Regions from separate parts of the Homo sapiens genome. Here all the other regions are linked to region 1. Evidence: promoter capture Hi-C in 16 types of primary human blood cells and fetal thymus (Javierre and others, 2016). All regions are on one chromosome and are shown on one strand. Each heading gives the region's core, a stretch centred on a gene start or on the middle of the fragment in contact. The rest is flanking DNA. Distances are from core to core; before and after follow the strand shown. Region 1 holds the start of CYLD (CYLD lysine 63 deubiquitinase). Region 2 has its middle 4.7 kb from the start of ZNF423. Region 3 has its middle 16 kb from the start of CNEP1R1. Region 4 overlaps HEATR3 (HEAT repeat containing 3). Region 5 overlaps HEATR3 (HEAT repeat containing 3). Region 6 has its middle 21 kb from the start of TENT4B. Region 7 overlaps TENT4B (terminal nucleotidyltransferase 4B).

Region 1 (4,153 bases), core at 865-3,364:
AAAAAAGAAAAGAAGAGCCTCTCACATCTGCATATTCCCACTGGAACAAGGAATACTGCTGCCTCTCTAGTGTTAAACCTAGCCACTCCACTGCCAAACTGTGAATTCCCCAAGTCCTTCATTTTTATATTATCCAGTGCCCACACGAGAGCCTGGCATATGCTAGGCACTGAATACAGAGAAATGAATGAAAGACTCAAGTGGTAACAGTGAAAACAAAATTGCATTTCCTCCTCCTGTTTAAGGGATTAAACCAAGAGAAAGAGAAGAGAAAAAGACTCAGGAATTGGGAGTATTTAATGAATTTTGCCTAAAACTTCAGTAATTCTCTAGATAAAATGAAATCATGCTAAACCACTTCATTGTTATACATATAAGAAGAAACAAATACGGAAAATTTCACAATTACGAAACCAAGTTGTTTTGAGGTTTATTTGATACTAGCTTCCTACAGCCTCAACTAGCATGTATGATGCTTATAAATTCTGTACAACCAATGAAAAAAAAACTAATTTAAATCATAGTGTGAAAATCAGGAACAAAATACTAATAGTTTGATAAACAACATAACTATTCCTTTCTCTCTCCCTGTGTTGGAGACTTCCTTAAATCAAACAAAACCACAGTTTAGGTGTGCCAGACTATAAAAATCATTGCTGCTTAATGTTAGTTGTGCTTTATATAACAAGCCTTATCTGCTTCTCACAAAAGTTACCACCCAGAGGAAGGTTTATTTGCAAGAATACTATACAATTTTGCAGCAGAATATTAGAGAATGTTCTGGGTGTTACTTCAATAAGAATTTCCAGCAAATCATTTTCTCCTAATACTGTTCTAGTTCAAATCCACCTACTGCTCAGTGGGGAATGGGAGGCTAAATTCTTAAGGCCATTCAGTCTACTTGGGGCGTGAGGGGGTGTGTAGAAAGCCAACAATCAAACGAACACCCTCTCAAGGCCTGGGTGCTTCTCTGAGAGCCAATGATTGCAAAATGAACAATCTTATTAAGATCCCTAATTAGCCCGAATTCAAAAGCAAGGTAGGCATGCTCCTTAGCTGAGCTAAGGATAAAACTTTCCAGGAAAAATTGAGGAGAAGAAGGTGGCAGGGATGATGGGGGCTGGGAGACTGCAAGGCCACAGGCTTGGTGGCTGGAAGATGACAACTATCCTAAAACATTCAAATGCCAAGGGGTGGAAGAGAAACGATGCCAAGTACATGAATAACCGGCAGCTGACCCAGCTGAGTACCAAACTCAACACCATCTCCTGAAGATTTCATGACTTCGCCCCCGCCCCCCATTCGCCCCCCACCCCCCTCGATTGTTAACATGAAAGAAAAACATAAAGAAAGAATACCTGTCACAGCAGGGCGCACCTTTCAACTAAGGAACTCCGGGTGGCTGTGTAGAACCATCCTCACCCTAGAAAGGGGGAAACTGAAAGAAAAAGCAGAACACGCCATTAACAAGGCCAGAACCCCGACTGCCATTCCTGGACGGGAGCCACCAACACCCGCAAAATCGATCGGTACGTACGCCCCGCGGCGCGGTCGGTAGGAATCACAGCCCCGGGCTCCTGAGGCCAACCGTGGCCGTCGGGGCCCGCCAGCGGCCTGTGCCTCAGTCTCCCAATCTGTAAATGGGGTGGGGGGCGGGAGGGGGACAGCGTCCCGCGCGGCTCCCGCCCCAAGTCCTCTCTCCTCTGGGGGTCCCGATGGTGGCGACCCCGCACGCTCCCCGGACTCGCAGCCCTCCCGGGAAGCCTCGGGGGATGGGGAAGCCCCGGTGGGGGGGGGAAACCCGGGCTGACGTCAGCGGGCTCGGCAACCCGCGGGCCCGGCCGGCTCGGGCCCGGGCAACTAACGGGCCGGCGCCGAGGGCCCGATGGTCGCCGCGGCGGCTCCGGACGCCCTGAGGCCAGGCGGCTGCGCCGAGGGGATCCGGCCGCCCGCCGGCCGCCAGCCGCCCGCTCATTCACTAACCTCGGGCGGCGGGGCGTCGCCCCTCGCCCCGGCTCCCCAGCCCGCGTCCCGGGCCGGCCCCGGCTCCCCACACCCACCGCCCTAGTATTTACCTCCGACGCGCGGCCCCCGCGCAGCCAAACCTGCTACCTGGGCCCGCCCCCACCTGCCCCGCCTCCGAACCGCACAGGGAAGAGGGAGGGAGCGGGGGCGGAGGGGGCAGCCGCCGCGCTAGCCAATCGTAGGCCGAGCTGCGCTCCTGAGCGGGCCGTGATTGGGCCTCCCTGTGACAGACCTTCCTCCAATGGCTGCCAGCCCGGCGCCGGCCGAAGGGACTTTCCGCTCTGTCAAGCTCGGTGGAACCAAAGGGAAAGCGAAGGGGCGGGGCAGAGAAGAGCGGCGGATGGAGGCGGGAAGCTCAAGCTGATTGGGCGAAAGGCTGTGGGTGCCGCGTCACCATTGGCTGATGCTGGAGCCGGGGCGGGGCGCTGCGCTGCCACCAGCTCCGCCTCCCGTGCTCCCGCCTCAGCTGTCAAAACTGTAGACGCTTAGGTTTGGGCTGGGTTAAGAGTCCAGATGAAGGTTGAAATAGGATTCCAGGATGCCGTGAGAGAGCAAAGCTTTAGAATCAGACCTCAGTTTGAATCTTTGGCGCTTTCATTCAGTGGCTGCGTGACCTGAGGAAGTCACAACCACGCTGAGCCTCAATGTCCTCATCTGTAAAATGGAGATCATAGTATCGGTTGTCTTACAGGATTGTGGCAAAATACCGAGCTAAAGTTCCTGGCACGCAGTACCAGCTCAGGAAAGGTTCATCTCTTCCTCCTCCGCAGATTCAGCCTGGGACGCTTGCTGTTTCCGAACCTCTGTTGCCACCTATCCCAGTTTGGAGGGAATTTTCCCAAGGATGGTGAAGAAGGGATTTCCACACGCCGCCTCACTCAGCCCCGCACCCCTGGCCACCAGCCAGGACTTAGGGTGTAGTTAAGGATCTTTCAATTAGAAGGGAGGCTTCTGATTCCCAAAAGCACTCAAAATATTTAAGGAAGTGCTTTTTATAATCAGTCCTAGAGCCTTGCTGCACTGGATACTCCTGTTAATTAATTTCTTCTCCTTTGACATTTTAAGTGCTAATTATAGGAGAAGGTGATTAACACTGAGAAAGGAGGAGGGGTGTGTGTGTGTGTGTGTGTGTGTGTGTGTGTGTTTTTAATCATGACACAAATTTCCCCCAGTGGAAAGTGACATGTTTCTGGAGATCCAGGGAATTTAAACCAATGAATACATAAAAACAGTCACATGAGTGATGACTAACAGTAGCAGTAGACAGGCCACCACTCTTCCTTGCCATAGTCATCCAAAATGAAATGAGCATCTTTTGAAAACCTAAGCCTCATTCTACTCCTGTCCCTCTTTTGTCACTCCTATCTTCCTGTTTTCCAGGCTTCATGACCACACTGCTGTAGGAAGCCATAAGTTGGAAATCAACGGGCCTGGCTTGAAGTGTGGCCTTAGGCAACACCGTTCTCATCTACATCTGGATTCTCCAACAAAGCTGGTAGGACTCAGAGGTCACAGTCCAACTGTCTGGAAGAAAATTTCAGCTGAAATTTGTTTTTGCCTAACCCATACGATAAGGAGGAAGGAGAAAAGAATGTGAAGGAGAGAGATTTGGGGTCCTTTTAGGCAAGGCAAACATTCTCATGTTACCACTGGGACCACTTCTCTTATCTGCACGATCTACATCCACTGGTCCCTTAAGGCATCTGAGTTTGCCACTCTGGACTAGAATATTTTCATGTCCCTTCTTTTTGTTTTTGTTGTTGTTGTTGCTGGGGTGTTTGTTTGTTTGTTTCTTTGTTTTGAGACAGAGTCTTGCTCTGTTGCCTAGGCTGGAGTGCAATGGTGCGATCTCAGCTCACTGCAACCTCCGCCTCCCAGGTTCAAGCAATTCTCCTGCCTCAGCCTCCCAAGTAGCTGGGATTACAGGTGCCTGCCACCACACCCAGCTAATTTTTGTATTTTTAGTAGAGACAAGGTTTCACCATATTGACCAGGCTGGTCTCAAACTCCTGACCTCAAGTGATCTGCCTGCGTCAGCCTCCCAAAGTGCTGGGATTACAGGCATGAGCCAATGTGCCCGGCCTATTTTTGTGTCCTTTCTGTTGATGGTGTTTGGTGCTGCTGAGGT
Region 2 (4,153 bases), core at 912-3,411, 880 kb after region 1:
CTGAGGGTATGAGTCCATGGGGATCCTCCCGCCAAGTTGGTTTCCTTGCTGCCTTGTGGGTGTTCCCTGCAAAGACTGCCGATGTTTGAAGAATTAAATGATTATAATAATGATGATAAAATAGAAATGGCTTTCCCAGCTGAACAGAAACCAGAGAAGACAAGGAGGTTCCCACACCCGGCTTATTGTTTTTGGCACCAGGCTACTACAGCCCCAGAGAGCCCCAGAGAGGCAGATGTCTGGGTCCACTGCTGGCCTCTTTGAGTTGTGGTCATGGGGAGGGGGGGACAATGGGGACCTCTGGGGAATTTCAGGAGCATCTGCAGGGATTTCCCTCCTCAAAACACCAGGCTGAGAACTAAAAGCAGAGGAAAGGACTCTCTTTTCGATCTTGCCTTCCTCTCTTCTGAACCCTCAGGAGCTTCAAGACCAAGTCTTGTGAGAAGAACCCTGCAAATAATGATGAAGAGGTGAGGAAGACCTGGGCTTGTGGCAGCTGCTGGTTAACAATCATGCTGCTAGGCCATCTCCTGGAAGGCTTGACCAGAGAGCATGGTCATTGCTTCCTCAGTACCCTGAGAACAGGAGTGTTCAGGGAAACTTGGATTCTACAGATAGATGCATCATTAAAATAAAACACAACTAGCCTGGCCAATATGATGAAACCTCATTTCTACTAAAAATACAAAAGAATTAGCTGGGCATGGTGGCGCATGCCTGTAATCTCAGCTAGTTGGGAGACTGAAGCAGGTAAATTGTTTGAATCTGGGAGGCGGAGGTTGCAGTGAGCCGAGATCGTGCCACTGCACTCCAGCCTGGGCGATACAACAAGACTCTGTCTCAAAAAATAAATAAACAAATAAATAAAATAATAAAACGCAAATGCACAAAACCTTCTCAATAGACATAAAGAAGATAGAAAGCTTCTAGAAAGCAAGGGCAAGTCTGAATCAAGGAAATACCAGGGAGAAAGAGGAACTTATTGGTGCAAGGAGGGGATCTGCAGTTGTGTAACTGGCATCTCTATGAACATGATTGACCTCGGAGGTGGTGAAGGTGAGAGAGAAAAGGTAAGGGAGGACAGCGAAGGCCAGATGACTGCTGTCTTGTGGCCAGACAGGCAGCATGGACAGATGAGAAACCCTCAGGACCACCCTATGAGATCCGTGCTATCCGTTTTCTCATTTTGCAGATGCAAAACTGGAACACGGGCTCCCTTGCTCCGGGTTCTTCAGCTAGGTGGTGAGGGAAGCTGGACTGGAAAATGGATGGAATTGGCTCCTAAGCCTGGCCATGGTGGCCTTTGCCTGAGCTGTGACAACTCTCGCTGAGAAGCCTCCAGCTCCTTTGTGCCCCAGGCCCTTTGCACACACTGTTCACAGCTGGGAACTCTATTCTCCATCCCCCCGCTTGGCTCCTTCCTCCTCCTCCATAGGGCTCTCAGCAGACCACCTTTGAGACTCTGTTTTGTGGCCTCTTTGTACTATATTTTAATTTCTTCTCAGGATTGATCAAAACTATAAGTAAATAATTATTTTTGTGGCTATTTATTTATTTATTTGAGACAGAGTCTCACTCTGTTGCCCAGGCTGGAGTGCAGTGGCGTGATCCTGGCTCACTGCAACCTCTGCCTCCTGGGCTCAAGCAATTCTCATGCCTCAGTCTCCTGAGTAGCTGGGATTACAGACACCCACCACCACGCCCAGCTAATTTTTGTATTTTTAGTAGAGACTTTCACCATGTTGGCCAGGCTGGTCTCGAACTCCAGACCTCAAGTGATCCACCCATCTCAGCCTCCCAAAGTGCTGAGATTACAGATGTGTGCCACCGCGACTGGCCTTGCGTGGCCATTTATTAAGTCAGCCACCCCCCTTACCCCCTACAACTAGAGGGCAAGCCCCAACAGGGAGGAACTGCGATCTTTCTCATTCATTGTTTTACCCTCAGTCTTGGCACACAGTAAGTGCAAAATCATAAATAAATGTTGAATAAACACAGGAACAAAGCAGTGAACTTATTCTCTGGGGAAAAGCTGAAGGGATAAATCATCCCTCCCCAAAATGACTGCTCCTCATAGGCTGATGCAAATTCTCCACAGTAGGGACTGGGAGTTTCAAGTAATAAAGCAGTAAACAAAAACCACTCATTCCAGATCGTATATATTCAAGTGACTGTTGTCATTTAAAGTAAGTGATGTGTGTGTGCCTGGAAGGGGAAAAGGTGGGCATTTGTTTTTTCTTTTTCTTTTCTTTTTTTTTTTTTTTGAGATGGAGTCTTACTTTGTCACCCAGGCTGGAGTGCAGTGGCATGATCTCAGCTCACTGCAACCTCGGCCTCCCAGGTTCAAGTGATTGTCATGCCTCAGTCTCTCGAGTAGCTGGGACTACAGGTATATGCCACCAAGGCACGTGCCACCATGCCCAGATAATTTTTGTATTTTTAGTAGAGACAGGGTTTCAACATGTTGCTGGGGCTGGTCTCGAACTCATGACCTCAGATGATCCACCCATCTCAGCCTCCCAAAGTGCTGGGATGACAGGCATAAGCCAGGGCCTCCCTAGCAGGTGATCCATCCGTTTCATCTTCCCAAAGCGCTGGGATTACAGGTGTGAGCCACGGCACCTGGCCAAGGTGGGCATTTGGTCACTTACTGGAAAGCATCCCTTGAGCAACTCTGGGAGCTCTGCAGGGATCATAGGTCTGAGGCCACAAAGTGAACACTGCCTTGTTTTCTTTATTGTCCTATCTTGTTTTTGTAGCCCACCAGACCCTCGTGCATTCACCAGACTGCTCAAAATGACGCCTGCCTCTTGAAAATTCAAGGAAGAAGCCTCAGTTGCTGCACATGTAGGAAAAACATTCTTAAGGAGCATGGTTGGGGAAGGCACCGCCTTGGGCAAGAGGTTTCCCCTCTTCCAGCCAAGTTATGACTTTGAAGGAAGATGCACCTTTTTGTGGGCAAAGTCTTACTTGTTCTCAAAAACCTCAACTTGGAATTTCTCTTGCATTTATGATGGTGGCTCCTGCTCCTTACAGCTTACAGTGGGTTTCCACAGCCACTCCTCCAAGCAGGGCAGGAGCAGCTGTTCACTTTCCGGCGAAGAAGGAGAGCCCAGAGGGGCCCCTTCTCATAGGGGAGGGGACTGGACCCCCTATTCCCTGCCAGAAGTAGGCAGGTGGGGGGTATAAAACACACCTGAAAATGACCCTTTCTGGTCCAAGGTCACCCGTGAGAAGCAAGGCCCAGGTGTCACCTGGTGTCCCTTGAGGCCCTTGCAGTCCGAGCTCAGAGGTGGGTGGGGATTGCAAATAAGGAAGGCACTATTGGCTTTTTGTTCCTTTGAGATTTTCCTTAAAACAACATTTTTCTGGAAGGAGTTAAAAATGAAACAAGCTTCAGAAGAAGCGGGACGGGCCGAGGCGGGGACAAGGTCGGGCTCCCTCTGCACCCTGACTGCCGCTGAGCTGGGAGACGCCGAACTTGGCGGGGGAGGGCGGAGCGTCGGGAAACGGACATACGTGCAGGCGACGCGTGGGAGGGGGCCCGGAAAACTTTGTGAGCGGCTCCAGGATCTCGTCCTTTCGGATTAGGTCAGGATGGGCTATTGCGGGCTCCCCATCCTGTTGCCCCCACCTCCGTCCTCAGTCTTCAGCAGGCCCCTAGGGGTGGAAAAGGGCAGCCCCGTGGGACTCCAACCACCCCTCTCCCCCGACGGCCCCTCTTTCGTCCCGCACACGCATTCCCCACCGCGCTCCTTTTGTCCGCCCCCTCACTCTCCAGACTCCCGGCTGGGCAGGATCCGCAATCTCCAGCCCCCCAGAAAGCCTGGGCGGGCGAGCTGGGGGCCGTTCCCCGCCCCCTACCTCTAGCAGAGGCAGCCCGCGGCGGGGGCACCCCAGAGCCGAGGCCAATCGTCCCCCTCCCCCAGCGTGTGCCATCTGCCGCCTGTCAGCCACTCTCCGCGGGCCTCGATCCCAGGCGCCGGCGGGGGTGGGGGAGCGGCTGATTCTGCCCCTCCTTCCTGGCTCCTTCCCAGGCGCCTCGCGGCCCCTGCCCTCGCCTCGGCCCTTGGCACCCCCGGTTCAGCCCAACTCCGTCCATCCCTGGGCCGCGGGGGCGTGGGGGGGGGGGCTCCTATTCCCTCCGGGAAGG
Region 3 (4,153 bases), core at 473-2,972, 700 kb after region 1:
AGAACAGCAGGTTCTTGCCTTCTCTAGAATCCCAAGCCCTCTATGGGAAGTAAACACTCCGACCCCTTCTGTTTCTCCTGTTATTATCTCTGTATTCCCAAATGATAAGCTATCACGCTTTCTGATTTATCAGTATCATATATTATCTTTTGATTTGCTGGCCTGATAGGTAAGGACTTAGCTCTCCAAAACTCTCTCCCACATTTCTCCTTTGCCCCACAAAATTGTACCGGAATTCTCTATTAAATCACTCTAAATTTCTAGGACAATGCAAATTTTGCTCACTGCTGAACTAAGAAGCCCACTAAACCACAATTCCTTTCTTTGTTCTTGGAATTAGTAATCGCCTTTTTTTTCTTATCCTGGTTTTCCATCAATTTGTCATTATTTTTCCCCTAATGTCCAACATCTTTGTCTATCGCTGCATACATTTAAACATACCCATTCCACTTTCTTCCTCATGGTCTCCTTCCTAACCCCATGCTGTCATCGGGACTGGGTGCTCTCTAAGGATGCGTTGTGCCTTGCATGCTGGAGTCCCATTTCCCATGTGGCTGTTAGCACGTGAAGAGATGGTAGTGATGTTCACCATGATAATGCTGCTGGTTTATTGTGGAAGATCTCAGCAGAAGTCACTGTACGTCATTTTGTTATCTCTCTCCTTTTTTTAAAAAAAATGTCTGTACCCATCCATCCACTAACTGTATGTCATTTATTGAAAGTGTATTCCATATGCATAAATTGAGTTCACATATGTAATCAGATAGAATTCAGAAACAGGGATTTCAGAAACCTAGGTCCTAGGTTGTGCAATTGCTACTATTCAAGTATCCTTTTCTGGATCTCAATTCAAATAACCCAACTCTAAAGGATACATTTATGGGACAGTTGGAGGAGTTTAAGCAGAATATTTGGTATAAAATTGCTACAAAATTATTAGCGTTTCAGGTATGATATAGTATTGTAGTTATATGTAAAATTTTTCTTAACTTTTGGAGATAGTTACTGGAAGATTTCTATATCAAGTGATGTCTGTGATTTGCTTCAAAATAATCCTTTGTGGGGGTGAGGGAGCAAGTTGAAATAGGGTAGGCTGAGCATCTCAAAACTGAAAATCGAAAATCTGAAAAGCTCCAAAATTCAAAACGTTTTTGTTTTGAGACAGAGTCCACTCTGTCGCCCAGGCTGGAGTGCAGTGGCACAATCTCAGCTCACTGCAACCTCTGCCTCCCAGGTTCAAGTGATTCTCCTTCCTCAGCCTCCCAAGTAGCTGGGATTACAGGCACCTGCCACCACGCCTGGCTAATTTTTGTATTTTTAGTAGAGACGGGGTTTTGCCATGTTGGCCAGGCTGGTCTTGAACTCCTGACTTCAGGTGATCCGCTTGCCTCGGCCTCCCAAAGTGCTGGGATTACAGCCATGAGCCACCATGCCTGGCCCAAAATGTTTTGAGTGCTAACCGGACACTTAAAGGAAATGCTTGTTTTGCAGCACTCAGATTAGAGAGTTTTGGAGTTGGAATGCTCAACCTGTAAACATAAAGCAAATATTCCAAAATGTGAAATCTGAAACACTTCTTGTCCTAAGCATTTTGGATAAAGGATTCTGAACCTGTATAAGAAACAAGATTGGCTATATGTTGATAATTGCTCAAGTTGGGTGATGGGAGTTCATTATACCACTCTCTCTATGTTTGCATGTGTTTAAAACATTCCAGAACAATTTGTTTTTAAATGGTTTTCAGGGTAGGTCAGGAAAAAAAATAAATCTGATAATTGTAGGAGACAGAATTTAAAACTCATCTTCTAGCAAGGATATATTTCTTTTTTAATTTACTTAATGAACTTACAATAGACTTAGTTATTTTAGTTTCTCTACCGTTACTTAAATTACAAATCTGAGGCCAAAGTGGGACGATCACTTGAGCTCAGGAGTTCAAGACCAGCTTAGGCAACAAAGTGAGACCCTGTCGCTACAAAAAATTAAAAAGTTAGCTAGGAATGGTGAGAGCCTGTAATCCCAGCACTTTGGGAGGCTGAGGTGTGAGGATTGCTTGATCCCAGGAGTTGGAGGCTGCAGTGAGCCATGATTGTGCCACTGCACGGCAGCCTGGGTGACAGAGCAAGACCCCAACTGAAAATAAATAAATAAATAAAATTTATGTTTTAGTGTATTTACGTATTTATATAAAAACTCAGTTTCAATACCAAAGTCAAGATTCATCCATTTGTTCAACAGCAATTGAGCATCTTCCATAGATGCCAGCACTCTTGGGTACTCAAGATACACCTATAACAAGTACTCAGAATAGCGACTCAAAAATTAGTTTGTGATTTTAAAAAAAAAGCTGGAAAGCTATCTTTTACATACATTATTTCATTTCATCCTTCTAGCTATTCTGCAAGATAGCTATCTAATAGGCCTAAATGAAATTAAGGTTCAGAGAGAATAAGTCACTTGCCCCACTGGCTAATGGAGGAAATGGGACTGTAATCCACATTGATCTGCCAAGTCTGGGTCCTTCCACTGCACGTGGCCCTGAGCTCTCTTACCTGCCAGATGGCATGAGGCTTGATTGGAAGCACTCTCATCTGTTAGATCAACTCTCCACAGCATGCTCCTGGAACACAACTGCTGTGTACCACTCTAGCAGTCAAGCAAGCAAGAGAAGCTGACTTTGAGTAAACTGAAAGCCAATTATTTAAAGGATATTGGGTACTTCAGGATTTTGGAGTGGTCTAGAGAGACTGGTTCAAGGCTAAAGTTCCAGAAGAAAAAAAATGCCCAAACCCATCTTACGGAACTGGTCGGATGAGGAAACTGATGCCACCACCACTGAGTCCCACTGAGTGCCCTGCCACGGAAACACAGCTTTACCACCTCCTCGCATGCCTGGGTCCCAAATGCAGGAGTCCAAAGTTTTCTGGGTTGTCCTGAGAGAGGATGGACTGACATAGCCAGCATTCCCCAAATCTAGCACGGGTGCTCAGAGGGAGCTGGGCAAGGCAACCACTCTGTGATTCTCTCTGTGGGATGTTCAATACATTTGCATGCCTCTTCTCCAATTAAAAAAGAGCAACTGGACAGACAGAAACCACAACAAACACTCTCTGTCCCCCAAATAATGTGAACAAGTCTTTGGTGAAATGGCAGAAAAGCAGGCAGTTTAACAGGTTTCTCTACTGCAGGGCCACTCGGGACATTCATGCATGCATTCATTCATTCGTTTGAGGCAGAGTGTCACGCTGTCGCTCAGGATGGAATGCAGTGGTACAATCATAGCTCACTGCAGCCCCGGCCTCCGGAGCTCAAGCGATCTGCCTGCCTTGGCTTCCCAAGCAGCTGGGATTACAGGCATTAGCCATCGTGCCCAGCCAACATGGAGCTTTTAATATGCTTTACAGCATGAACAATCTCCAGGAGGAGGATGTAGTAGTTCCCAAATATTGGTGATCATGGAACTTTTATTTCTGTAACAGGCTAAATATGATGGAAGAAGTGGTGCTGGTGGTAGGCTTTATGCTCAATTGCTTCTTCTTTTGTCCTCTGCGAAGTCCTATTCATTTGACATTAAAAGTTTTTTTTTTTTCCTTTTTTTTGAGACAGAGTTTTGCTCTTGTTGCCCAGGCTAGAGTCCAATGGCGCGATCTTGGCTCACTGCAACCTCTTCCTCCCAAGTTCAAGCGATTCTCTTGCTTCAGCCTCCTGAGTAGCTGGGATTACAGGTGTTAGCCACCATGCCTGGCTAATTTTTGTATTTTAGTAGAGACGGGGTTTCACCATGTTGGTCAGGCTGGTCTCGAACTCCTGACCTCAGGTGATCCACCTGCCTCGGCCTCCCAGAGTGCCAGGATTACAGGCATGAGCCACCACACCCAGATTATTTTTTTAATATTAAAAAAATTCCCCACTTGCCAAGGCTGACCTATCATTTGCCCTCTAAGAGGTTTTTGGGTAAGCCCAGGCAAAGATTTTTTTTTTTTTTAAAGGTTTTAGTTCTGATTCCACTCCCTGAACTGTAGTTCTGGGGCCCACATATCTCATCTGGGCTATAGCAGCCACTCCCAACTGGCCTCCCAGGTCCTGCCCTGTCATCACAAATGCAAATCCAGTTGTCACTTCCTTAACTGAAAACACTCTGATGGCTTCCCAT
Region 4 (4,153 bases), core at 606-3,105, 660 kb after region 1:
ATACAGCCTTGACTGGCCTGATATAACTGGATGCAAACAATTTTAACAAAAAAGAAAATTATAAGCCCAGGAGCTGCTTGCATACCTCGTTTTGACTCTGTACCCCATGGCAACTATAAATACATGATTCCTGTGTCTGGGAAAGGTTTCTGCACATTGGATGACAAACAATATACATTTACAAAATCCAAATTCCTGCCCCTTCAAAATTCTGTTCCGTCTGCGTAGTCTTTCGCAATAAAGTCTAAATACCTGGTTGAGAAAAAAGCAGCTGTGACAGATGCTGTGCAAGCGTCTGAAGGGCTGCGGCTCCTCCCAGGTGCTCCACATCCAGGAGGGACACAAGACTCTGGAGACAGAAGAGGGCTCTGCACTGAATAGTGTTCATTCTGGAAAGGAAGTGAAACAATGCCATCTGATTCTCCAGAAGTTGCCCATCAGAATTCAGTATTAACTTTTAGCCTAAGCTTCACGTTCTGACTGGAAATATCTGTAAATACAAGGTATCTATGGCAGTTAGCAAAGAATCACAAGGTGAACTGTTTTTTGTGTTTTCTAAAATTTATCATCATTTTTTAGACAGGGTCTTACTCTGTTGCCCAGGCTGGAGTGCAGTGGTGTGATCACAGCTCGCTGTAGCCTCAACCTCCTGAGCACAAGTGATCCTCCTGCCTCAGCCTCCTAAGGAGCAGGATTACATGTGCATGCAACCACACCTGGCTAAGTTTTTTATTTTTTGTAGATAGGGGTCTTGCTATGTTGCCCAGGCTGCTCTGGAACTCTTGGCCTCAAACAATCCTCCTGCCTGTACCTTCCAAAGTGCTAGAATTATAAGGTGAACTGTTAATCTGCCAAATCAAACTGCTTGAATATTCACGGCCTCTGATACACAACTCATTCATGAGTCATGAGGAATATGTTTTAGAAAAATTTCTATGTAGGGTAGCATCCTTAAAATTATAATTTTCTTCAGACAGGGTCTCATTCTGTTTCCCAGGCTGGAGTACAGTGTCACCATCATAGCTCACTACAGCCTTAGACTGCTGAGCTCAAGCAATCCTCCCACTTCAGCCTCCTAAGTAGCTAGGACTACAGCTGAGTGCCACTATGCCAGGCTAATTTTTGTATTTTTTTTTCCTTTGTAGAGATGGGGTCTTGCTATGCTGCCCAGGCTGGTTTCAAACTCCTGGCCTCAAGTGATCCTCCTACCTTGGCCTCCCAGAGTCCTGGGATTATAGGTGTGAGCCACCATGCCCAGCCTAAAATTATTTTTAATTGTGAAATGTGACATATATACAGTTAAGTACACAACATACATAGAGAGTTTAACAAACAGTCTATGAAACCAAAACCCATGCACCTGGGAAAGAAATTAACACTGCTGGACCCTGAAAGCCCCTGTATCTCTTCCATATAATATCCCACCTCCCTGACACCTACAGGTAAGCACCATACAGACTTCTATGGTAAACATTTCCTTGCCTCTTTTTTTTTTTAATAGGTTTATCACCAAGGTATGCATCCCTGAACAAAATAGTTCAATGTTGCCTGTTTCTCAACTTTGTAAAAACTGAATCACAGTGTGTGTATTCTTTTATGTCTCGCTTTTTTGGTTCAACAATGTAAGTTCCATCCGAGTTGTGAGTAGCTCTAATTCAGATCCCTTTTACTGCTGCATGTATTGTACTGCGTGATTTTGTCAAAATTTATTTACCATTCTAACTCTGATGGACAACACGTTTGTTTATGGGTTGGGGCAACTGTGACACACACTGCTATGAACACTCTCATATACATGTATTCTAGGGCATGTGGGCACATATTTTTCTGGTATATATACCCAGGAACAAAACTTCTGGGTCCTAGGGGGAGTCAGCACCTTCTATTTAATAGCCCATCATTTCATAAAATAAAATAATGACAAATGTTTTTGAAAGCAGAAGAGTTCTTACTTTCTAATCAAAGGTTTCCAAGTAGGGTTCCTAGAACATAGGTCAACTGCAATGCTGTTTGGAAAGGCAGTTTTCTCAAAAATCTAGATTTAAAAGAGGCAGTAAAGCAAAGGTTAAAGAGTAGTCATTTAACACGATTCCCTTACATAATTCCAACATATTACTCCTAAGTGAAATGGTTAGGCTTCATATAGAATGACCTTTTCGCCTATTTCCAGTACTGTTAGGCTCAGCTTTGTCTCAGATCTTACCACCATCTACAACCTGGAAGTGTGAGCTTGCTTCTTTTGTACACAAAATGAATACCTTGCTTAAGCCTTTCCCATGCTCCACGGTAAGCCTAGAATGAAAATGGATTACCTTCTTTGGGATGAGGTAGTTGGTGAGAGCCGTGTGAACTTCATGGGAGAGGCAGAGGGGAGAAAACAGCTGTCCCCCGCACTCACTGAAGGAATTCTCCATAAATGCGTCACTTTCATCACTGCTAGAAAGCTCTTCCCATTCGTCATCAGAGGGATCTGGGAAGCGGGCAAACCACGCAGAACTGGAATAGTTAAGAAAATCTCCACGGGAGTTTCCCTCTTGGCTCAGGGGGAAAATGTCTAAATGTAAATGTTAACAAACCTTCATTGCAGCACATGTTGACAATAATTTCCAGAGCAGTCTGTTGGGCTGTCAGCAATGCTATAGTCTCTCTCAGTTCCTTGTCAGTGGGCTTAAAAAAAAAAAAAAAAGTAAATGACCAACTCTCAATGGTTGGGAAAATGTTTTTGGGGAATTTCCTTAGTGAAAGCCTACTAGAAGATTTTTGCGCTTGGAATAGAGCACACGGGGAATGGGGTAGGTAAAAGAAAAGTCATGAAGTGCCAGAAGTACAAACGAGCATTATAATTCCTCTTGGTACAGTGGAGCATGCCCCCGTTAACTGGGTTTCCATCTATCTGCATGGCTATTCCCCAAGCGTCACTTAGTTAGCTGGAGAGAACAGACAAATATTCAGGAATTCTGAACAGAATTCACCCTGAAACTTATCTACTGTGTCAAGAAGTAGCTGGGCATACTAAGATTTAAACAAGAGTTCATTTCAGACACCAGGCACTTAGAAACACCAAACCTGCTTTTAGATGCTTAGCTTAGATGTCTTTCTTGGAATGGCTGCGCTAACACACACTACTAACGAGCCCTTATGTGACCTGTAGAACTTGCTATGGAGCAGACAGACTTGCTTCCTGCCTTTCTGTAAAGACTATAATAAAGCATTTCTCTAAGACTAAAGAAAGAAGGAAGCTTTTTTTTTCTCTGAAAATATATAACGCCAACTTAAACTTAACATTATCAACCAACATTTCTTAAAATGGGTAATATAAATTTATATAACCTTAATTATCAAATTGTCTATGGAAAGTGAAATAACCATACTGATATTCCAAAACAGTACATGAGCTAAAAATAATGTATATTTTACTATTTGAATATTTCCAAACTTCAGTTTTCAATTGTCTTTTTTTTTCCCCCTTAGAGACAGAGTCTCACTCTGTTGCCTAGGCTGGAGTGCAGTGGCACGTTCATAGCTCACTGCAGCCTCAAATTCCTGGACTCAAGCAATCCTCTTGCCGCAGCCTCTGAGTAGCTAGGGCTACAGGTGCATGCCACCATGCCTGGCTAATTTTTTTAATTTTTGTAGAGACAAGGTCTTAGCCAGGCATGGCGGTGCATGCCTGTAATCCCAGCTACTTGGGAGGCCAAGGCAGGAGAATCCCTTGAACCCAGGAGGCAGAGGTTGCAGTGAGCCGAGATTGTACCACTGTGCAACAGAGTGAGACTCCATCTCAAAAAAAAAGAAAAAAAGAAAAAGAAAAAGAAAAAAAATTTACCTGCTTTTTTTTTTTTTTTTGAGAGATGGGGTCTCAGTATATTGCCCAAGCTGGTCTTGAAATCCTGACCTCAAGTAATCCTCCCACCTCAGCCTCCCAAAAGTGTTGAGATTACAGGCATGAGCACCATGTCCAGCCCCAGTGGCTTCTTTGTGCAACAATTTAACTGTAACTTCTAAGCATATTCTTAAAAAAAAAAAAAGCAAATTGCTAATTCAATAGACGTAGCTCAGGGATCCCTAAATTTGAATTCTACTTATTGGTAGCAAGAACCTATATAAAAATCATTTCTATTTGCTTTGTGTGTGTGCTAATTCAACTAAATAT
Region 5 (4,153 bases), core at 1,135-3,634, 630 kb after region 1:
TGTTCCACAGATCCTTTTCGGGGGGGGGGGTCATGAGGTCAATACTGTTTTCACAATACTAAATGCGACTTGGCTTTTTTTGCTGTGGTGGCACACTGGGGCTGTGGACACTAAAGTGATGGGATGAAACTGCTGGTGTCTAGTATGAATCAGGGCATGGGCACCAAACTACTAATTATCACTGCATTCTCCCCAATCACGCACTTAGAGGAAAAACAAAGCAAGCTGCACCCAAGACTGTAGTTGATGAATTAGTAAAAAATAAATAATAATTTATCAAACTTTGACTCTTGAGTATGTCTTTTTCCATATAGATACTCGTTATTCTAGCACCATTTACTGAAAAGACTATTGTTTCTCCATCAAGTTAACTTGGCACCTTAGTGGAAAATCAATTGATCATATAATTATGGGTCTATTTCTGGACTCAATTTTGTTCCATTGATCTGTATGTCTTTACTTATGCTAAAACCATATGATTTGATTGCTTTAGCTTTATACACAGTAAGTTTAAAATCAGGTTGCATGACGCATATGCACAGCCAAACACACCCAGGTCAGCTCCCCACCTTTTTTTTTTTGAGACGGAGTCTCGCTCTGTCGCCCAGGCTGGAGTGCAGTGGCACAGTCTCGGCTCACTGCAAGCTCCGCCCCCCAGGCTCATGCCATTCTCCTGCCTCAGCCTCCCAAGTAGCTGGGACTACAGGTGCCTGCCACCACACCTGGCTAATTTTTTTTTTTTTTTTTTTTTTGTATTTTTAGTAGAGACAGGGTTTCACTGTGTTAGTCAGGATGGTCTTGATCTCCTGACCTCATGATCCACCCACCTCGCCCTCCCAAAGTCCTGGGATTACAGGTGTGAGCCTTCACGCCCGGCCAGCTCCCCTTTTTTTTTGAGACAGAGTCTTACCGCCCAGACTGGAGTGCAGTGGCGTGATCTGAGTTCACTGCAACTTCCGCCTCCCATGTTCAAGCGATTGTCCTGCCTCAGCTTCCCAGTAGCTGGGACTACAGGGGCATGCCACCACATCCGGCTAATTTTTGTATTTTTAGTAGAGACAGGGTTTTGCCATGTTGGCCAGGCTGGTCTCGAACTCCTGGGCTCTAGTGATCTGCCCATCTTGGCCTTCTAAAGTGCTGGGATTACAAGTGTGAGCTACTGCGCCCAGCCCCCAACCTTTTTTTTTTTTTTTAAGAAAGGTTTTGCACTGTTGCTTAGGATGGAATCATGATTCACTACAGCCTCCATCTCCTAGGCTCAAGCCATCCTCCTGCCTTAGCCTCCCAAGTAGCTGAAACTACAGGTGTGCGCCACCAAGCTCAGCTAATTTTTTTTATGTTTAGCAGAGACAAAGCTTCCCTATGTTGCCCAGGCTGGTCTCAAACTCCAGAGCTCAAGTGATTCACCCGTCTTGGACTCCCGAAGTGCTGGGATTACAGGTGTGAGCCACTATGCCTGAACAGTGTATATTTCTTTCTTTTTTTTAACAGAGCTCACTCTGTTGCCCAGGCTAAAGTGCACTGGTGCAATCTTGGCTTATTGCAACCTTCACCTCCTGGATCCAAGTGATTCTCATGCCTCAGCCTCCTGAGTAGCTGGGATTACAGGTATGGGCCATCACACCCGGCTAATTATTTTTTTTTTGAGGTGGAGTCTTGCTCTGTTGCCCAGGCTGGAGTGCAGTGGTGGAATCTTGGCTCACTGCAACCTCCACCTCCCAGGTTTGAGTTTCTCCTGCCTCAGCCTCCCAAGTAGCTGGGATTGCAGGTGCATGCTACCACACCCAGCTAGTTTTTGTATTTTTGTAGAGATGGGATTTCACTATGTTGGCCAGGCTGGTCTCAAATTCCTCACCTTAAGTGATCTGCCCACCTCGACCTCCCAAAATGCTTGGCCTCCAGTGTGTATTTCTAACGGGCTATTCTGGGTGATTTTCAAATAAGTATATTTTAAAGCAGACTTTTTTTCCCCTATGGTCATACAGAAAAAGCTCTCCATTATCCTGTGCCATGAATAATACTTGCATGCTCTATTGAGTTATTATGTAAATAGTTAAAACTGTATGCTGTATTTATGAGTTGTTTTCCCTTCTTTTGTGTCGTTAGAGTGGTAAAGTTGAATGGGAGAAATCCAGACCCAATTATCCATGCCTCAGAATCTAAGAGATTTTTAGGATGGCACATCTTCAGTGTCATCTCATCTTCTACCGTGTTTAAGGATGATTCTGCATTCAACAGCTGCTTTAGAGCTTGCTTAGTAAAACAGAAAATCACACACAAAACAACGAGAAAATCACCAGCATTTATTTACTCAACAAATATTTATGAAGAGTCGACTATATACTAGGTCCTGTGCTAAATATCCTGGATATTGTTTATAGGTCAGAAACTGTGGGGAAGAATAAACAGAATGAGGAACTTTTTTCTCCTTGAAAATAATTATATTTTATAAATAATTGAGGCAGAGAGAACTCTAATACTTTCTTTTTTGGAAGAGTCGTTCTCCAAGGAGACATGCTTGGGCCAATCATTTAGCTGAAATGATCACTAAACATACATATATACCTTAAAATTCATGAGCAAGGACCATAATAAAGCGAGGTGTTGTATATGGTATACATTTCTGTTTTCCCACCATATACACAATTTGGGTTATTTTACTTGGTGCCATGGGCTAGGAACTCTTAGGGCTGGGAAACAATCTTGGTTTCCCAACAGTCTATATCATATAGGTGAAAACTGTAAAATACATCACAGTGCAGATGAAATCTAACACTACTAGCTCATTTTGTGCTGCTGTGGAAGCAGTGAATTAAAATTAAGTCCTGTACTGGGGATTGGGCCTTTTGTCAGGGCAACTGAGATCAACTGTACAGAAATTTTCAAATTTCCCTTCTCATCAGGCAAACGGATGGACAATGAAGCCGGTTCAGAGGCCCAGCCGAGACAATGATGCACAGGGAAACTCCCTCGAGCCCCAGCTGTCACCTAGTACTTCGAAGACACTGAGAGGTAATGCTGCAAAGTCGTGCTGTCATTTTTTTAATGTCTCACATATATTCCAAGCAATATGCATTAGCAAACAAATATCCACGAATAGTATCATCTCATTTTCTACTAATAACCCTTTATTTGGTATCTTAAAAAAGATTTTGTAAGACACAAAACTTTCCATTAAAAAGTTGTTTATTTAAAAATACCTTCTCCCAATTCTGATTCCATATCAAATTAAATCAAGAAGTGATGTTACAGCAATAACTCATCAAAGTCATGAGTAGGGAGGATGGCAATGACCCCATTAGCTCATTAGTATAATCTAGTAAGTGAAATAGAAATTCAACTCATTTACTTCTTCACAAAAGGCAAACATAATTGATATACTTCATATCAAAAAACTAGTTTATAAAGCTTGTCTTCATATTTCAGTTTAAGGTTCAACTGATATAAAATGCCTTAAAAGAACATCCAAGCAATGCTTTGGATTTTCTTTCTTTGCAAAATTCAAGGAAAACATGATTGGTTGAAGTTTCTTCACTGCTGGCGAATTAGTTAAGAGCTACCTGAGATTCCTTCGCACTTCCACTCTTCCACTCTTTGAGTTTCCAGTGATTAAAATATGCCAGAGACATAATTTAGAGAGCGCTAGAAATGCCACACAGATCTCATCACTTAAAAAAGAGTTTCTGGCCAGGCACGGTGGCTCATGCCTGTAATCCCAGCACTTTGGGAGGCCAGGGCAGGCGGATCACTTGAGGTCAGGAATTTGAGACCAGCCTGGCCAACACGGTGAAACCCGTCTCTACTGAAAAAAAAAAACAAACCAAAAAACCAAAAACAAAAACAAGGTGTGGTGGTGGGTGCCTGTAATTCCAGCTACTCAGGAGGCTGAGGCATGAGAATCGCTTGAACCTGGAATGGCAGAGGTTGCAGTAAGCCAAGATCGCAGCACTGTAATACAGCCTGGGCAGCAGTGAGACTCCATCTCAAAAAAGAAAAAAACAACAAAACAAAACAAACAAACAAAACACACACACAAAAAAACCAGCAACAGAGTTTCTGACAGGTTTTGAAGTTTTTTTTTTTTTTTTTTTTTGGAGACAGGGTCTCCCTCTGTCACCCAGGCTGGAGTGCAGTAGCGTGATCTCAGCTCACT
Region 6 (4,153 bases), core at 423-2,922, 610 kb after region 1:
GCCTAGGTGACAGAGCAAGACTCCATCTCGGGAAAAAAAAAGACTGAATGCTCAACCATGGCCACCAAGTTACAATGCGACTTGAGCTACCCATCACAAACTGGGGGCTATCTGATCTCCAATGCCATAAATTTGGATGTGCACAGGAGCACTCCACCATCAAATGGAAGTGGTATATACATGATTGAGTTCAAGCAGGCCCTGAAGGCACAAGTAAGTTAATGAAGGACTGGCACAAATACCAACGGTCCCCCGCCCCGCTACACTGCCTTCTGTCTCCCGTTCTGTACCTATGGCCTCTTAGGGAGGTCCCTATAATCAGCTGACAGAGGAAGATAGGACAGGCCTGGTTTCCAGGTGGTTCTGCACAATACGTGTGTGCCATCTGAAAGTGGACAGCACTACAGCTTCTCTCTGAGACATCCCTTAAGGACAGCAGTGAAGGGAAATCTTCCCAGTGGCAAAACTTCAGGCAGCATGCTTTGCTTGGAAGAAGAAATGGTCAGACACGCAATTATATACCAATCCCATGGGCTGTGGACCATGGTTTGGCTGGATGTTCAGGAACTTGGAAGGAATATGATTGGAAAACTGGTAACAAGGAAATTTGGAGAAGAGGTATGTGAATAGACCTCGCAGAATGAGCAAAAATCATAAGATATTTGTCTCCCATGTGAATGCTCACTAAAGGGTGACCTCAGTAGAGCAGGACTTTAAAAATCAAGTGGATAGGATGACCTATTCTGTGGATAGCCATCAGCCTCTTTCTCCAGCCACCCCCTCATCAGCCAGTGGGCTCATGAGCAGAGTGGCCATGGTCAGGGATGGAGGTTAATCATGGGCTTGGGAATATGGACTACCACTTATCAAAGCTGACCTGGCTATGGCCACTGGTGAGTGCCCAATCCATCAGCAGCAGAGACCAAGACTGAGTCCCTGATATTCCCCGGGGGGTAAATCAGCCAGCTCCCCAGTGGCAGGTTGATTACACTGGACTGCTTCTATCATGGAAGGGACAGTGTTTTGTTCTTACTGTAATAGATTCTTTAAAAATTTTTTTTAATTATTATTTTTTATTTTTAGAGATGGGATCTTGCTGTGTTGCCCAGGCTGGAGTGCAGTGGCTATTTGCAGGCATGATTATAGCACACTACAGCTTTGAACTCCTGTTCTCAAGAAATCTTCCCACTTTGCCTCAGCCTCCCAAGTAGCTAGAACTACAGGTGCACACCACTGTGTGGGCTTGTAATAAACTCTTACTCAGCATATTAATTTGCCTTCCCTGCACACAATGCTTCTACCAAAACTACCGTTTGTGGGCTTATAGAATGTCTTATCCATTGTAATGGTATTGGTATTCCACACAACATTGCTTCTCATCAACGAACACACAGCAAAAGGAATGCAGCAATGGGTTCAAGCTCATGGAATTCACTGGTCTTTTCCCACCATTCTGAAGTAGCTGGTTTGATGAAACAGTGAAAGGGTCTTTTGAAGACTTAGTTACAGTACCAGCTAGGAGGGCTAGGGCAAGGTTCACCAGAAGGCTGTATATGCTCTGAATCAGCGTCCAAAAACAGTGCTGTTTGTTTTGTTTTTCTTTTTTCTTTCTTTCTTTTTTTTTTTTTTTTTTTGGAGACAGAGTTTCCCTCTTGTCGCCCAGGCTGGAGTGCAATGGTGTGATCTCGGCTCACTGCAACATCTGCCTCCCGGGTTCAAGCGATTCTCATGACTCAGTCTCCTGAGTAGCTGGAATTACAGGCACCTGCCACCACACCGGCTAATTTTTGTATTTTTTAGTAGAGATGAGGTTTTGCCATGTTGGTCAGGCTGATCTTGAACTCCTGACCTCAGGTGATCCACCCGGCTCGGACTACCAAAGTCCTGGGATTACAGGTGTGAGCCACCGCGCCTGGCCATGGTGCTGTTTCTCTTACAGCAGGAAATCACAGTCAGGAATCAAGGGTGGAAATGGGAGTGGCACCCTTCACCAATTTTTTTTTTTTTTTTTTTTTTAGACAGAGTCTTGCTCTGTTGCTCAGGCTGGAGAGCAGTGGCATGGCCATAGCTCCCTATAGCCTCAAACTCATGGGCTCAAGCAATCCTCCCACCTCAGCCTCTCAAGTAGCTAGGACTACAAGTGCTTGCCACCATGCCCAGCTTGTTTAACAAACAAAGAAAAAAAATGTATATATATATATATATATTAGAAACAGTGTCTCCCTATGCTGTTTGGGCTGGTCTCAAACTCCTGGCCTCAAGCAATCCTCCTGCCTTAGCCTCCCAAAGCACTGGGATTACAGGCATGAGCCACTGTGCCCAGCTGAACCACTATTACTTCTAGTGACCCAGTAGCAAAATTTTTGGTTCCTGTTCTCACAACTTTATGCTCTGCTGGTCTAGAGCTCTTAGTTCCAGAAGAAGGAATGCTTCCATCTGGAGACACAACAATAATTGCATTGAGCTGGAAGTTAAGGCTACTGCCCAGCCACTTTGGGCTCCTTAATACCCTGAATCAACAAAAAAAGAAGGGAATCCTCTAGTGGCTAGATAAATTGATTCTGACTACCAAGGGAAACTTGGACTACTACTCCACAATGGAGGTAAGAAAGAGTATGTCTGCAATTCATGAGATCCTGCAGAGCATCTCTCAGTATGACCACGCCCTCTGATTAAGTGGAACGGAAAAATATACAACAATCCAATCCAGACAGGACTATATATGGCCCAGGTCCTTCAGGAATGAAGGTTTGGATCACAACACCAAATAAAGAACCATGACCACCTGAGGTGTTTGCTGAAGGCAAAAGGAATACAGAATGGGGTAGTGGAGGAAGATAGTTATAAATAAATACACAGCCATGACCACATGACTGGTTACAGAAATGAGGACTGTAATTGTTATATTTCCTCCTTATTTTATTTATTTATTTTTTTTATTATTTATTTATTTATTTATTTATTTATTTATTTTTTGAGATGGAGTCTCCCTCTGTCACCCAGGCTGGAGTGCAGTGGCGTGATCTCGGCTCACTGCAAGCTCCACTTCCTGGGTTAATGCCATTCTCCTGCCTCAGCCTCCTGAGTAGCTGGGACTACAGGTGCCCATCACCACGCCCGGCTAATATTTTTTTTAATATTTTTAGTAGAGACGGGTTTTCACCCGTACCCAGGATGGTCTCAATCTCCTGACCTCGTGATCTGCCCACCTCAGCCTCCCAAAGTGCTGGGATTACAGGTGTGAGCCACCACTCCCGGCCTCCTCCTTATTTTATTATGAACACGTTTGTGTAGCAAATATCTTTGTTTTCTTTCCTCTCATTTTATCATGTAACATAAGATGTATTGACTTTGTATCATAGGATTTAAGTATTGTTAATTTTATATCTGGCTGCGTGTGGTTGTTCATGTCTGTAATCCCAGCACTTTGAGAGGCTGAGGTGGGAGGACCACTTGAGCCCAGAAGATCAAGACCAGCCTGGGCAACATAGGGAGACCCTGTCTCTACAAAAATTAAAAAAAAAAATAGCCAGGCGTGGTAACACTTGCCTGTAGTCCTAGCTACTTGGGAGGCTGTAGAGGGAGGATCTCTTGAGCCCAGGAGGTAGAGGTTGCAGTGAGCTATGATCATGCCACTGCACTCCAGCATGGGCAGCAGAGTGAGACCTTATCTCAGAAAACAACAACAGCTGAGCATGGTGGCTCACACCTGTAATCCTAGAACTTTGGGAGGCCAAGGCAGGCAAATTGCTGGAGCCCAGGAGTTCGAAACCAGCCCGAGCAATATGGCAAAACCTCATCTCTACTAAAAACAAAACAGAAAAAAAACAAAAAACAGTATCCAGGTGTAGTGGCATGCACTTGCTGTCCCGACTACTCAGAAGGCTGAGGTGGAAGAATCGCTTGAGCCTGGGAGGATGAGGCTGCTGTGAGCTGTCATTGCACCACTGCACTCCAGCCTGGGCAACAGAGCCAGACCTTGTCTCTATAGAAAACAAACAAAAAACCAACAATAACAACAAAAATTTTACATCTGCTCTATGAAAGTGTCATATATGCAAAGCAGCCCTCAAATGCCAAAGGAACAGAGAAACCAAGGAATGAGGCAGATGAACCAGTTTGTCAATGAAGGGTGATTTATGAGGGAACTTAT
Region 7 (4,153 bases), core at 1,150-3,649, 560 kb after region 1:
TGGAAAAGACCATGTAAAATGTAAACTAGGAGACACATTAAGACCTTTCATGTTGACAAAAATTATTTTTCACAAGGGATCTTTTACAATGACACAATACTATCAGCTTAAGGGGACTAAGAAATAGTTGATACTTTATAACGAAGAGGTATTTTGAAATTCTAGGCATTTGGAGTTAATATTTTAGTCAAGTTGAACAAATGTAGGAGAAAAATTAATAAATATACAACCTATAGTTTCTAACACTGACATGAAGCACCAAAGAAAACGCAGAGCACATCAAATTAAGTTTTCTCTTGATGATTCTTTTTCTCCTTTTTTTATGGCAGGGTTTCACTCTGTTGCCCGGGCTGTAGTGTAGTCTTGGCTCACTGCAACCTCTGCCTCCCAGGCTCAAGCGATCCTCCCGCCTCAGCCTACTGAGTAGCTGGGACCACATGCACGTACCACTGCATCCAGCAAATTTTTGTATTTTTGGTAGAGACAGGGTTTCACCATGTTGCCTAGGCTGGTCTTGAACTCCTGAGCTCAAGCAATCTGCCCACCTCGGCCTCCTACTAAAGGGCTGAGATTACAGGCATGAGCCACCATGCCTGGCATCTCTTGATGATTCTTGATGTTTTGACACAATTATTCTGGTTACTATCACCTGGTATTTACATCACTAACCTAATCTAGCATTTTTAATAAAATGTTTCCAGGTCAGTGACTAGCACACAAGCACTGAGCATAATTCTCCTGAGTACCCACCTCATCTCCATCACCTCTGCAGCAGTTTGGCTGAAAGACAATTTAGCAGGACCAATAAAACACTTAAAATGTCCACTCTCTGTCCCAGAAGACACAGCACATGTACATAAAGAGGCATGTGCAAAAACAATCACTACAGCCCTGCAAATGAAAACACTGGAAACAACCTCTGTGTTCATCAGTAGGAATGTGGCTTTTAAAAACTATGGTTTTTAAATAAAGTGAAGGCTGGGCATGGTGGCTCACACCTATAATCTCAGCACTCTGGAAGGCCGAGGCAGGTGAGTTGCTTGAGCTCAGGAGTTCAAGACCAGCCTGGACAACATGGTGAAACTCTGTCTCTATAAAAAAAAAAAAAAAAAAAAATACAATAGCTGGATATGATGTTGTGTGCCTATAGTCCCAGGTACTCCAAGAGGCTGAGCCAGAGGTTGCAGTGAGCCAAGATCACACCACTGCACCCCAGCCTAGGCAACCCTATCTCAGGGGAAAAAAAAAAAAAAGTTCAAATCCATGATTGCAGGTGGCTTGAATCAGACTGATAAAGGGCATTTCAAGGCACACTGTCTCCACATTTAAATCCACAAACACACCTCCTTTGTGACTCTCCAACAATATAAATATTCTGTCTTGCTTAAAAACAAATCCAGTTAAAAACAAAGAAAAACCCAACACTTTTGTACAAGACCAATTTTTTAAAACTTACACATAATTTCACAATTTAATATTTTTACTTTTAATCCAAAAAGCAATTGTGTTACAAGGCCTGAGCCAAACTTCACTTCATTACAATAATGTCTGTGGCCCACATAACTATTTTGTAGTTGTTTAATTCACTTGTTATGGTTCTAATCAATACAGAAAAATCAGTGAGGAAGAAAACTATTCTATTTTAAGGAAGCAAAACTATTCTATTTTAATAGTTTGGAAGTTTGAGGACTTCCAACAGTTCATCTCACTCTTGGACTACTAATCTCCTCTACAGCAATGGGGTCCCTTAGACCCCACTGCCCCTTCTTGAGGGATTTTGACAATTGGCCAGGTTTGGGAACCTATAGTTTAATAGCGCCTTTGGGCAGCAGTTTTCAACCTTTACTGCATACGATTTTTTTTTTTTTTTTTGAGATGGAGTCTCGCTCTGTCACCCAGGCTGGAGTGCAGGGGCACGATCTTGCCTCACTGCAACCTCCACCTCCTAAGTTAAAGCGATTCTCATGCCTCAACTTCCAGAGTAGCTGGGACCACAGGCACATGCCATCATACCCGGCTAATTTTTTTGTATTTTTAGTAGAAACAGGGTTTCGCCATGTTGGCCAGGGTGGCCTTGAACTCCTGGCCTCAAGTGATCTGCCCACCTCGGCCTCCCAAAGTGTGAGATTACAGGCATGAACCACCGCAACTGGCCTATTATTTCAAAAAATATGTGAAGGCTGGGCACAGTGGCTCATGCCTGTAATCCCAGCACTCTGGGAGGCTGAGGCAGGCAGATCACAAGGTTAGGAGTTCGAGACCAACCTGACCAACCATGGTGAAATCCCGTCTCTAATAAAAATACAAAAATTAGCCAGGCATGGTGGCACACACCTGTAATCTCAGCTACTCAGGAAGCTAAGGCAGAAGAATCACTTGAAACTGGGAGGCAGAGGTTGCAGTAAGCTGAGATCGCACCATTGCACTCCAGCCTGGGCAAAAGAGCGAGACGCCATCTCAAAAAAAAAAGAAAAAGAAAAAAAGAAAGTGAAAACTATCACTCCCCTACAAATGTATTTTATCAGAGTACCTGAGAAGTGGGTTCTAGTCACTAATTTTTTTTTTAACTTCCTCAGATTGAGAACCGCACTTAGAAGGAGCTGCTTTAGGAGTTATCACTATCAAGCCCACTGAGCCCATCATCATTATCTGCATGGTCCACAGGAAACCCAACGGTATGGCAGAAGACAAGGTGAAGCACCAAGCCCTGGTTTTATTTGATTTAACAGACTTGGGCTGACAGGACCAGATTCTAGAGGCACACTAGGACACATTACAGACTAGGGCTAAGAAACCCTGGATTCAGGTAAAGATAAAGTCACTATACTAACAGCAGAACTTGGTAATGTCACTTAACTTCTCTGAGGCTCAAGTTATTAATTTTTTAAAAAAGGATTGGAGTAAATCACCTCTGAAGATCCTTTGATCTCAAACACCTTGATGATTTCTAACCATGTTGTAACAAATCGGTCAAATGAATAAGCAGAGTGGTCCTTACAGTAATGCATGAATATCTTCTGCAAATATCAGATTAACCTCATATATACAATTTTGGGCTTATTTACATAAAAATCCTACTCCTCACCACACCATAAGAAATCTTAACTGAACATTAGTGTGTTCTATCAAGTCAATTACAAATGAAAATTAAACTGGTCACATAAGCCCCAAAGTAAATATAAACATTTGGGATAAAGTAAAAAAAAAAAATTTTCTTTTGAGACGGAGTTGCGCTTTGTTGCCCAGGCTGGAGTGCAATGGCAAGATCTCGGCTCACTGCAACCTCCACCACCCGGGTTCAAGCGATTCTCCTGCCTCAGCCTCCCAAGTAGCTGGGATTACAGGCATGCGCCACCACACCTGGCTAATTTTGTATTTTTAGTAGAGACGGGGTTTCTCCATGTTGGTCAGGCTGGTCTCAAACTCCTGACCTCAGGTGATCCACCCGCCTCGGTCTCCCAAAGTGCTGGGATTACAGGTGTGAGCCACCGCACCCGGCTGGAATAAAGTAAATTTTTAAAGTAACTCTTTAACCTTTTCACTGTCAACACCATCCTGATGTTTTTTATAATTTTTTTCCATCTGTAAAAATTGTTGTAAAACATATGTAACATAAAATGTACCATTTTAATCATTTTTAGGTGTACAGTTCAGTGGTATTAAGTACATTCACACTGTTGTGCAATCCTCACCACCATCCACCTCCATAACTTTTTAATCTTTTCCAAATGAAACTCTGTACCCATTAAACATGAATTCCTCATTCCCTCCTCCCCACAGGCCCTGGCAAGCATTATTCTAATTACTGAATTACTGTTTCTATGACTCTTATATTCCAGATACCTCATATAAGTGCAATCATGCAATATTTGTCCTTTTGTGTCTGGCTTTTCTCATTTAGCATAATGATCTGAACGTTCATCCATGTTACAGCAGTGTCAGCATTTTCTTATTTTTAAAGGCTGAATAATAGTAGCCCATTGTATTCATACACCACATATTATCTATTCATCCATTGATGGACACTTGGGTTGCATCATTCTGATTTTTTTTTTAACCATCAGTAGTTATTTTGAAGTCACATACAAAAAAGATGAATGAACTTTATGTCATCAACTTTTTTTTTCTTTTCAAGAGAGAACAAAATTTCACT

Evidence for each region. The method cuts DNA at HindIII sites, captures the fragments that hold promoters and counts their contacts. A CHiCAGO score of 5 or more calls a contact.
Region 2: a fragment that was not itself captured here is called in contact with the fragment with the promoter of CYLD in region 1 in 1 of 17 cell types (monocytes); the score reaches 5.4 in monocytes.
Region 3: a contact is called between a fragment that was not itself captured here and the fragment with the promoter of CYLD in region 1, in 2 of 17 cell types (neutrophils and total CD8 T cells). The highest score is 9.1, in neutrophils.
Region 4: a fragment that was not itself captured here is called in contact with the fragment with the promoter of CYLD in region 1 in 10 of 17 cell types (monocytes, naive CD8 T cells, naive CD4 T cells and 7 more); the score reaches 9.6 in monocytes.
Region 5: a fragment that was not itself captured here is called in contact with the fragment with the promoter of CYLD in region 1 in 4 of 17 cell types (monocytes, M0 macrophages, naive B cells and 1 more); the score reaches 6.6 in monocytes.
Region 6: a contact is called between a fragment that was not itself captured here and the fragment with the promoter of CYLD in region 1, in 1 of 17 cell types (neutrophils). The highest score is 5.9, in neutrophils.
Region 7: a contact is called between a fragment that was not itself captured here and the fragment with the promoter of CYLD in region 1, in 10 of 17 cell types (total CD4 T cells, naive CD8 T cells, naive CD4 T cells and 7 more). The highest score is 8.0, in total CD4 T cells.

What each region holds. Positions count from the first base shown.
Region 1 is chr16:50,740,047-50,744,199 of GRCh38, reverse strand. CYLD (CYLD lysine 63 deubiquitinase) reads right to left here and starts at 2,114. Exons shown (of 19, transcript NM_001378743.1): 1 at 2,076-2,114; 2 at 1,359-1,438. It overlaps CYLD-AS1 (CYLD antisense RNA 1), which reads left to right and starts at 1,453. Exons shown (of 7, transcript NR_184279.1): 1 at 1,453-1,529; 2 at 2,796-2,872; 3 at 3,406-3,520. MIR3181 (microRNA 3181) reads right to left here and starts at 1,895; the gene lies at 1,823-1,895. RefSeq lists an enhancer at 1,360-1,459 and a silencer at 1,700-2,299. The HindIII fragment of the contact is 2,791 bases long and covers 1-2,584 here.
Region 2 is chr16:49,858,697-49,862,849 of GRCh38, reverse strand. It overlaps a transcript of ZNF423 not described here. Among named protein-coding and RNA genes, the nearest start is that of ZNF423, 4.7 kb to the right of the region's middle. The HindIII fragment of the contact is 2,471 bases long and covers 926-3,396 here.
Region 3 is chr16:50,039,340-50,043,492 of GRCh38, reverse strand. No RefSeq gene overlaps it. Among named protein-coding and RNA genes, the nearest start is that of CNEP1R1, 16 kb to the right of the region's middle. RefSeq lists a silencer at 3,249-3,449. The HindIII fragment of the contact is 9,784 bases long and covers 1-4,153 here.
Region 4 is chr16:50,082,451-50,086,603 of GRCh38, reverse strand. It overlaps HEATR3 (HEAT repeat containing 3), which reads right to left. Exons shown (of 15, transcript NM_182922.4): 8 at 2,577-2,667; 9 at 2,313-2,470; 10 at 1,953-2,035; 11 at 253-389. Among named protein-coding and RNA genes, the nearest start is that of HEATR3-AS1, 18 kb to the right of the region's middle. The HindIII fragment of the contact is 2,772 bases long and covers 470-3,241 here.
Region 5 is chr16:50,105,403-50,109,555 of GRCh38, reverse strand. It overlaps HEATR3 (HEAT repeat containing 3), which reads right to left. Exons shown (of 15, transcript NM_182922.4): 15 at 2,284-4,153. Among named protein-coding and RNA genes, the nearest start is that of HEATR3-AS1, 41 kb to the right of the region's middle. The HindIII fragment of the contact is 2,053 bases long and covers 1,358-3,410 here.
Region 6 is chr16:50,130,524-50,134,676 of GRCh38, reverse strand. No RefSeq gene overlaps it. Among named protein-coding and RNA genes, the nearest start is that of TENT4B, 21 kb to the left of the region's middle. The HindIII fragment of the contact is 5,770 bases long and covers 1-4,153 here.
Region 7 is chr16:50,178,428-50,182,580 of GRCh38, reverse strand. All of the region lies in intron 1 of TENT4B (terminal nucleotidyltransferase 4B), which reads right to left. Among named protein-coding and RNA genes, the nearest start is that of TENT4B, 27 kb to the right of the region's middle. The HindIII fragment of the contact is 5,075 bases long and covers 1-4,153 here.